Linked DNA regions of Homo sapiens: regions 1 and 3 are each linked to region 2. The links are contacts of gene promoters, found by promoter capture Hi-C in blood cells and fetal thymus (Javierre and others, 2016). All regions are on one chromosome and are shown on one strand. Each heading gives the region's core, a stretch centred on a gene start or on the middle of the fragment in contact. The rest is flanking DNA. Distances are from core to core; before and after follow the strand shown. Region 1 has its middle 22 kb from the start of LAMP2. Region 2 holds the start of ZBTB33 (zinc finger and BTB domain containing 33). Region 3 overlaps LAMP2 (lysosomal associated membrane protein 2).

The links. The method cuts DNA at HindIII sites, captures the fragments that hold promoters and counts their contacts. A CHiCAGO score of 5 or more calls a contact.
Region 1: a fragment that was not itself captured here is called in contact with the fragment with the promoter of ZBTB33 in region 2 in 1 of 17 cell types (non-activated CD4 T cells); the score reaches 5.4 in non-activated CD4 T cells.
Region 3: a fragment that was not itself captured here is called in contact with the fragment with the promoter of ZBTB33 in region 2 in 1 of 17 cell types (M1 macrophages); the score reaches 6.6 in M1 macrophages.

Annotation. Positions count from the first base shown.
Region 1 is chrX:120,489,481-120,492,510 of GRCh38, reverse strand. No RefSeq gene overlaps it. Among named protein-coding and RNA genes, the nearest start is that of LAMP2, 22 kb to the right of the region's middle. The HindIII fragment of the contact is 6,082 bases long and covers 1-3,030 here.
Region 2 is chrX:120,249,193-120,252,389 of GRCh38, reverse strand. ZBTB33 (zinc finger and BTB domain containing 33) reads right to left here and starts at 1,578. Exons shown (of 3, transcript NM_001184742.2): 1 at 1,413-1,578. It also overlaps a transcript of TMEM255A not described here. RefSeq lists an enhancer at 1,033-1,871. The HindIII fragment of the contact is 5,064 bases long and covers 883-3,197 here.
Region 3 is chrX:120,432,161-120,435,453 of GRCh38, reverse strand. All of the region lies in intron 8 of LAMP2 (lysosomal associated membrane protein 2), which reads left to right. Among named protein-coding and RNA genes, the nearest start is that of LAMP2, 35 kb to the left of the region's middle. The HindIII fragment of the contact is 600 bases long and covers 1,663-2,262 here.

The DNA of each region.
Region 1 (3,030 bases), core at 50-2,549, 240 kb before region 2:
AGTAGCTGGGATTACAGACATCTGTCACCATGCCTGGCTAAGTTTTGTATTTTTAGTAGAAACAGGGTTTCACCATGTTGGCCAGGCTGGTCTTGAACTCCTGACCTCAAGTAATCTGCCCGCCTTGGCCTCCCAAAGTGCTGGGATTACAGGAGTGAGCCACCACGCTGGGCTGAGACTTAACATTTAAATGTATTACAATTAGGTCCTATACACAGAAGATCTTTTCAGGACATGTAAGCATGCAAGTGCACAGCCTCTGTAAACCGGCCAGAACCAGTCCATGGTGGGAGATCTTATCAGGAGAAAGTTGCTAAAATCAGTCTGTTGTCCAATTAAAGATGTAATTACGGCTGGGGGAACAGAGGTTCAGTTAGTCAGGGTCTGTGAGCTAGATGAGTTGTAATTGTTTTAATATTATCTCAAGACCAGTGCTTGTTTAGCTGCTAGAGAAAAAGAAAAACCTTGAGACAGTTAGAGCATAGTCGTATATGCATGTTTGTTCAATATGCATGCGTCAAGACCACCTTCATGAATATTCATAACTCCTCCTGTAAGCTGTTGCGTACATATAACTTTAGCCAACCTCTTTAGCATAAAGCTCCTACCCCAACCCTTCCTCCTTAACCCTTGCCTGGCATGGCCTTAGGTCCTGTTTATAATTTCATATCTTATTGCCACAAAGAGGGTATTGTGTCAGTCTTACAGTTTCTATTTTAACATTAGTGTTGGTTGGTTGTGTCAAAACCATATAAGGGAGAGGGTATAACAAGACGTGTCTGACCTATCATCCCATCATGGCCAGGAACTCAGTTTTAAGGTTTTTCTGGGGTCCTCTTGGCCAAGAAGTGGTCTGTTCATTCGGCAGGGGGCTTAGGATTTTATCTTGTTTATATTACAACAGCGTTTATGATGCTGTCAGATGTCTTCTCTTCAACAGAAATCAGTTCCAAAATTGTTATTTTGATTTCATACATTGGATGAAATAAATGTATCACTATTAATTTAACTTCTATTTGAAGCACCTGAGGACACCGATATAAGGTCGGCATCATTAAACTGTTTGGCTAATGCAGCCAACACCTTAATAGCTACAACTTCACTTTTTGTATGTGCACAAGGAAAGTTGGAATAAAAATTGAGCAAAATGAATTTAGAAGAACAGTCATTTGATCTAGATGAGAATCACGTTGAATAGAGTTATATGTAAACCTGTGGTCCTTAAGCACATTCTTAAAATAACTACTGCCTTATGAGGTAGATGCTGATGCTTCCTCAACAGACCATTGCCTTCTGGGTTTTGTGTGGTCAGTTATATCACTGTGGCCCTCACAGTGGTAAACATCAATAGACATTTTGTGCAAGTTACATGTACATCACCAAATTTAGTACCTGCTTTTTTTTAGAGATGGAGTCTTGCTCTGTTGCCCAGGCTGGAGTGCAGTGGTGCAATCATAGCTTACTGCAGCCTCAAACTCCTGAGTGCAAGCGAAACTCCAGCTTCAACTTCCCAAAGTGCTGGGATTACAGGCATGAGCCACCATGCCCGCCAGTACCTAAATTTTCAGTAAACATGTACTTTCATTTATTTGAGCTCATTACTGCTAAGAAGGTTTATAACAAAATAAAAAAGCATTATCAATCAATACATAGTTGTATATTTACACCATGCGTAAATTATACAACCACTGTTGTGAGAATTTTCAGACTGCTCTCTATATCTTCTGTGGCTGGTATGCTCAGCCTCTATTTCCTATGTCTATACAGGTACACCTTACCTATAATTGCCCACATTTCCCATTGACCCTGCTAACTGGCGACCTGATGGCTTCTTTTCTTTTCTTTTCTTTTTTTAACTTTAAGTTCTGGGATACATGTGCTGAACGTGCAGGTTTGTTACATAGGTATACATGTGCCATGGTGGTTTGTTGCACTTATCAACCCATCATCTAGGTTTTAAGTCCCGCATGCATTAGGTATTTGTCCTAATGCTCTCCCTCCCCTTTCCCCCCAACCCCTCAACAGGCCCCGGTGTGTGATGTTCCCCTCCCTGTGTCCATGTGTTCTCATTGTTCAACTCATACTTATGAGTGAGAACATGCGGTGCTTGGTTTTCTGTTCCTGTGTTAGTTTGCTGAGGATGATGGCTTCCAGCTTCATCCATGTCCCTGCAAAGGACATGATGTTATTCTTGTTTATGGCTGCATAGTATTCCATGGTGTATATGTGCCACATTTTCTTTATCCAGTCTATCATTGATGGGCATTTGGGTTGGTTCCAAGTCTGACCTGATGGCTTCTGAAACACACATGGAACTCACAGGCCAAAGAACCACTGGCCAGTACTCCAAGTGGCAGGCAGCTGAACAGTGTCAGATACTTCCTCCACCACTACATGAGATCTGAGGTTGTTATCAGTCCCTAACTGCTGATGTCTGGGCATATTTCCTTTTATCAATGAGTTCCTCCGCCTGCTTTCCTTGATGGGGAGGTTAGTTATGTTATTTCTGGAAAGGGTAAGGAAAAGAGAGATTATCAGTGGTTGTTTTTCAGATTTAATCAGGTGAGAGCCAAAATGAGAACTCTGTAGAAACTGGAAGTTCAAAGTGGAGATCTACTAAACTCAAACCAAATTATTTTAGTGGAACTATTGAGAGTAATATTTAGTTCAAAAATGAAAAACATGTGAGACAAATGCTAAATTGGATGAGATGTGGGACAATGGATATAAACTGAGACTGTCCCAGGCAAAATGAGAATGTAGAGTCATCCTGGTTATACTACTTCTCACTAGATTATCATTTCTTTTTGTTTGTTTGTTTGTTTGAGAAAAGGTCGTACTCTGTCACTCTGGCTTGAATGCAGTGGTGCAACCACGGCTCACTGCAGCCTCAACTTCCCAGGCTCAAGCCATCCTCTAACCTCAGCCTCCCCAGTAGCCGGGACTATAGATAGGCACATGCTACCATGCCTGGCTAGTTTTTATTTTATTTTTTGTAGAGATGGGGTCTCATTGTATGGTCTCGAAATC
Region 2 (3,197 bases), core at 329-2,828:
GGCCAGAGTTTAAAAAAACCCATATATTAAAAATATATAATATCCATACATATTATATATGGATATATTTTAATATATGGATATTATATATTAACAATTAGTTGACAAGTACTTTTAGTGAAGAAATATTTTTATTAATATTCTCTCCCTTTGAAGTTACCAAAAGGGTGTCGATGTCACAATGCTTAAGTTATATACAGGTGGAGGGCAGTTCTGTCTCAAATACCTTCTAAATTTTTCAAAATGATACCTTAAGAACAAACAGCAGGCAAAAAGTCTAAAAATCAAGATTTAAAACATTATTAGAAGGTGTTGCATGTTAACAGTACCAAGGAATTCCAGGTTACCATAAAGGCATTCATCATCAGAAAGGGTGACCTTTGGACAGTTTGCCAAAAACCAGGGCTTCCGAAATACGGGCATTTCGACAGAAGTCGATATTAAGTGGAAAGACAGGTTTTCTGAAAACGGCACGCAATTTTTGTCATTTGCTCCCGGGTTCTTCCAATATGGGAATGCGTCAAATGTACGTGTCCAGGTGACACTGGGACTCGGTTTCGTTTCGTTTATGTGTCCCCCTCCTCCCACTCAGGGTGGCCCCAGAGACAGCACAAGTCGGTCTGAACCCACTCCGAAGATATGCGATTCGACTGTGGAAAAGCCATTCCACATCACTGTGAAACCCTTGACCGAGGGCCAGTTCGGAGGAGCTGGTGACGGTGGAAAGAGATAAAAGCCATCCGCGAGGGAGTGAAACAAACCGACACGCGGCTCCCTGCGGCAGCTGAACCTCATCTCCCTTCCTCCACCTCCCTCTTCCCCATATGGACCCTGCCAGCTGCAACCGAGGTTTTTAACCCCAATTCACGTGCAAAGCAAGCTTCTTGCAAATACAGACGGAGGTACAAACAGCAGAGTGAGGGCGGGAGGAATATGGGGTACCAGGGAAAGTAGAAGGTGGCGAACGGCAGGGTGGGGTGTTGGGGGGGGGATGAAGCGAAGCAGGCGGCATTGTTGTGCCCCGGGAAGGGGACGGAAGGGGAGGATGGGCCTGGCAGAAAAGCTCTAAATCAAAGTAGGGGCTAGGGGAGTAAAAGAGGCACAAAAAAGCAGCGAGAGGGGCGAGGGAAAAGCCAAGTGGGTCTCTGTGATGGATTCCCCAAGCCCCGGGGCCTACCCAGGGCACCGGCAGCCCCTCGGCCCCTAACGGCGAAGGGGACCGCGCCGCGGCCCTCGCGGCTCGTCCCCTCCTTCGCTCCCCGGCCCACACAAAGAAAGAGCCGGAGGAGCTGAGCCTCCGACTCTGCCGCTTCCTGGTTCAAGTGAGGCGAATGCAAACGCAGGCGCGGCCCAGGGACGGAGAAGGCAAGCGCGCTCCTTCGCCCCCTCCCTGATTGGGGCCGGGTCCTCACCTGCTTCCCGGCGCCGCCGCTTCTCCTCCTCCGGACGCGCGGAAGGCTGGGAGTCCCCCAACAAGAAGAAGCCGCACTCCCCAGCGATTCTGCCCCTTCTTTAAACGTCGCTCCAGTCTGGGTCGACGTCGACGCGGCCGCCGCCTCCTGCCGCCAACGCTGCTACAGCTGCCCCACGCCGCCGACAGAGGGCACAGCGCGGGGGCGAAGCGCTGAAGCCAAAGGCGCCCTCCTCTTCCGAGCGCAGGCCGGGGTGGTCCGGAAGGGCCCGAGCTTGAGGCGGCTCCACTTCGGCGCCGTGCTCTGCCTTCGGTTCTTTCCGCAAGGGGGCGGAGGAAGACTGGGAAGCTCTTGTGTGTTCGGCTCTTTCCGGAGGGCTAACGGGTGGGAAAAAAGGAAAGGGAAAGATCGGGTAAGACAGTCGCAAGCAATTGGATGGAAGGGAAGCGAGTCGTTTTCATCGAAATTCAATGTGAACTTCTAGGGCATACAAACTTTTAGAGACTATACAGGTTTCATTTATTTTGCAAGTTTGAATCTGCTCTATTAGACTGTTTGCTAGATGATAAACCATCTTGAAATATAATCAAAATACATACAATCAAATAGAAATTCACAACTTCTTATGGTAATTCAAGTTCTGGGATAACAAGAGAGCAACTACATTACAGTAACTACTTTTAAGAAAGAAATTTAGTGTTTGGACAACTATCTTCTTAATTGAATACTAAATGGTGCAGTACTATGTTAATTCCCTCATTCCAACTAGCATTTACTGACCCCCTGCTTGATCTGTAGCAAAAACCCTATGTTAGGCTCTCGGGAATACAAAAATGAATAACCCAAAGGTCTCTACCTCTTTAGGGAGCTCAGTAGGTAGGTACACAAACATGGACAAAAATATTTGTACAAGGTGTAGAAGCAGAGAGAAGAGAATAGCAAATTGAATGCTGTCATTTGACCTGTATCTTGAAAGATTAATAATATTAACACTTGCATTTTTAATTTTTTATTGTTACTATTTTAATTTTTTATTATTACTATTTCCATAACATTTCATCTTCAGAGGGCTTTAGTGTCTGACACATAGTATGTGTTCAGTGATTGTTTAATGACCGAAAAAATACATTGTGAGTTACATAATTTTTTAAAATCCTCTGGTAATACCCTTCCAACTGAGTACCATAATAAATGAAGCAACAGGATGGGTGTTTGGAGAGCAAAATGTTTCCCTTTTAGGCTGGTTATTGATCGTATTCAACTAAGGAACCAAATAGTAACTTTTTTTCTGCCATAATTAAGGCCATTCACTACCTTCATTATCTTTTTAAAAAGATATATATAGGATAATACTGCATTCATTTCCAAAATCTTAAATTTGTACCTATTAATACCTTGCAGTGGAATTCCTGTGCTTCTTTCCTAAAAAATCTTGCTGAAAATGTCCATCAGGATATTAGACTGAAAACAGATGTAACTATATCTAATTTTCTCTGACAGGAAATCAGACATGGATGTCATCATCTCATCTACCTATCCCTAATCTATTCTTCATCCTCCTCAATAAAGTAAAGCCACATGGTATAATAAAACATCAAAGTGGTATAATATAGCTGTATTTCACATGGAAATATGCAATTCCTTAAGCTCTTCTCCAAGATTTTGTATTGTGGGAAAACAAACTATGTGGGAATTATTGCATTATTGATTTTTGATTAGGACTTAGCATTATGAAAAGTTTCATTGTTTACTATAAAGATATTTCATGGCAAATAGAAGTATGCT
Region 3 (3,293 bases), core at 713-3,212, 180 kb before region 2:
ATAGTATTTCATCTGTTTATTTAGGTAGATAATGTTAAATTGTCTTGGGCTCATCTTCCACCCATCTCCTTTTCTTTTACCCTGGTAGCTAACTTTCTGCGTTAATAATCACCATTTCTTGTATTTGAAACTGGTATAGATATTCATGAATGATATTGAGTAGCTTCACGAATCTTTTCAGATGCATGTGATTTACTTAACACAGTTTGATTATAGATATAAAATGTATATAACAAAATATCACCTAAGAATGTGCTTCTTAATGTGGATCCTTCCAAAAAGAAGTTTTGACTCGTTTGTTTGTTTGTTTTGTTTTGTTTGAGATGGAGTCTCGCTCTGTTGCCCAGGCTTGGGTGTGTATAGTGGTGTGATCTCAGCTCACTGCAACCTCCGCCTCCCAGGTTCAAGCAATTCTTATGCCTCAGCCTCCCAAGTAGCTGGGATTACAGACGAGTGCCACCACACCTGGCTACCTTTTTATTTTTTTAGTAGAGATGGGGTTTTGCCATGTTGGCCAGGCTGGTCTCGAATTCCTGACCTCAAGTGATCTGCCTACCTCGACCTCCTGAACTGCTGTTATTATAGGCATGAAACGCTGTGCCTGGCCTCAACTGGTTTTTAAGAGAAGTTTTATTAGTTTTTGTTGTAAATGTATACCTCAGCTTTCCAGTTCTTGTGTTGAAAATTGTGTTTGAAAAATGTCTGAACTGGCAGAAAATTGAAGATTAACAGCATTTTTAATCTACATGAAACTTCTTACTGAAATTTTAGTGGCCATGGAACTTTTTAATCTTTAAAAATCTTTATTGCTTCTGTGGCTATTAAATTCTTCTGCAAATACACTTCTCTTTTCCCCAGAAGCATTTTCAATACAGCGTTAAGTATACATTAGGCAAGTAGATCAGATCAAAATGACTTATAGGATGAGATTTTCTTTTCTTCAGAATGTGATCCCATTAAAGTTACTGTTTTACCAACATTTTTTCCATTAACTAAATAATTTTTAAAGGTTGAATTCATACAATCAATAGTTATTATAAATTAATATTTCACATACTAATTGAGAGCATTTTAAGTAAATGACAGTATCTAGAAAGATCTTTGTATTAGCGGAATTGCCTTTTTGAGCTACTCTGAGAATATTTGTCTTACATGAAAGCCTTATTGGCAGTATTTATGAAAGTCGTTTCAGTACTAGGTCAAATACCCAATTTGGGAAAGAGAGAACTATGAGTCTGTTGCCAGAATAAGAAATTAATCTACTAATGAATTTTTAAAAAACCAAGTTATATTAAACCCACGGCATAATACTTTATGGTACATGTCACCTAATAGTTTATGGGCTGGGTGGTAATTTGGGAAATTGTAGGGGAGGTGCTAACTGGGGATTCTTAACACCATCTATTCACAGGTCACATCTGGCAGCCTCAGCTCTCTGGATTCTTAACAGAACCAAGAAGCAAGTAAAACAAATAATTGAACTGGCAGCCCAAGTCAATGTCAGAAAAGTTTATAAACTCCAGGGTTGCATTTTGTTCCTAGTTATTGCCCCAGAGGCTAGTGGGGGCGGCGGGGAAAGCTTGGCACATTTCTTGAATGCAAGCACAATCAGAATTGCCATGCAGCCTATTTGTCCTATCTTTGATACAATTCTAATAAGCTTAGTTATCTGATTTATCAGTCCCTGGTAGACTGCAAGCTAGGCAGAGAACTAGGGCAACAAGACACAGGAAATGGGAAATAGAAATAGCAGTTAACTTCTTTCCTGCAAGTGTATCCATCTGTAGCATTCCTTCCTCCTCTCCAGTCTCAGAGTAGGTTTTCTTTTCCTGGTTAAACTGAGGCAAACAGTTATGTCATCAAGGCCCATTTATATCTCTTTTCCCATTACTAAGTGACCCCAGATTGTTATGTATTGAGTTCTTAATGTCTTACGCTTTTGGAATTCAATCTCTTAACTTGTAGGAGAACTTGTACCATTCAGCATCTTCTGTCAATTGCTAATGGCTGTTTCCCTCATCCTATTTAAGTTCTTCTAACCTTAAGCTATCCTTTCTTGTCCCTATGTCCCCCTTCTAATTACCTCCCTTTTGTCCTGCCTTAATCATTCTAAACTTCTCAAAATGAGTATTGTATTTGTTACCCTGCCCAAGTTCTTGATGTCCTAACCAATCACTTCCCATTCCCTCTTAAACCTGCAGCAATTTTACTCATATCTCCCACCCTTCATATTGCTAGAGGCAATGGACATGTTTCAAAGCTTTCTACTATTATTTGCTGTCTTTCCACCTTAATTGAAACGTTCCATCCTTAGCTTCTCTGGCGCCATTTTCTATCTGCCCTTTTACATCTTTTTCCTACTCCATTGTCTATCCCACAGGTATTGGTGTTCCCAAGGGTTTTTGTCTCTGATCCTCTTTTTATTCTACTTCCCCTTACTGAGAAATGTTCTTGCCCATGTTTTAACTACCACTTAGGTTCATATAGCCACTTGGTTAGGACATAGTGATTTTTTTTTTTTTTTTGAGATGGGTTCTCGATATGCTGCCCAGGCTGGTCTTGAACTCCTGGGCTCAAACAGTTCTCCCATCTCAGCTTCCCAAGTAGCTAGGACTACAGGCGTAAGCTACCATGCTCAACTAAGGACACAGATATCTTAAACTCACATATCTAAAACTGAGCATCTCTCTCTTCCACGTATCCTTTTTACCACCTGTTCCATATAACTACAAAAAACTGAAATGCATATATTCTTCCTCTTTTATAGAATGGCACCAGCATCTACATAATCAGTCAAGTGTGGAATTGGAAACCATTCTATTATCTCCTCCTCGTACACCCCCTACATCCGTTTGGTCAATTTTGCCTTCTAATTTGATCTCCAGTCTGTGCCTTCTGCTTTTCTTCTGCACTTCATTAATCCAGCTCAGGACAATATTATTGGTTACCTGGACTCTAGTGATAAAGATATGTCCTACCTTACTACCTCCATCTGCCATAACTTCTGAAATGAAATCCTGCTTAATATCCTGCTGCTGAATTTTTTTTTCATCAGGATAAGGCCAGACTACCTAAGAGCATATAGTACCTTTGTGACCTGGGTCCCTGCACACTTTTTCTGCCTTCTATCCAGCCAAAAATACCTTTTGATCCATTGTTCTAGCTCTGCCAACCTGCTTGCGTTTCCCTTGAAGTGCTATGTCTTTTTACTCTCCATATTTTTGTCTGTGCTATTTCTTATACCTGGAATGCCCTTCCCCCATTACTTGCATCATTAATTCCTATTCATTCTT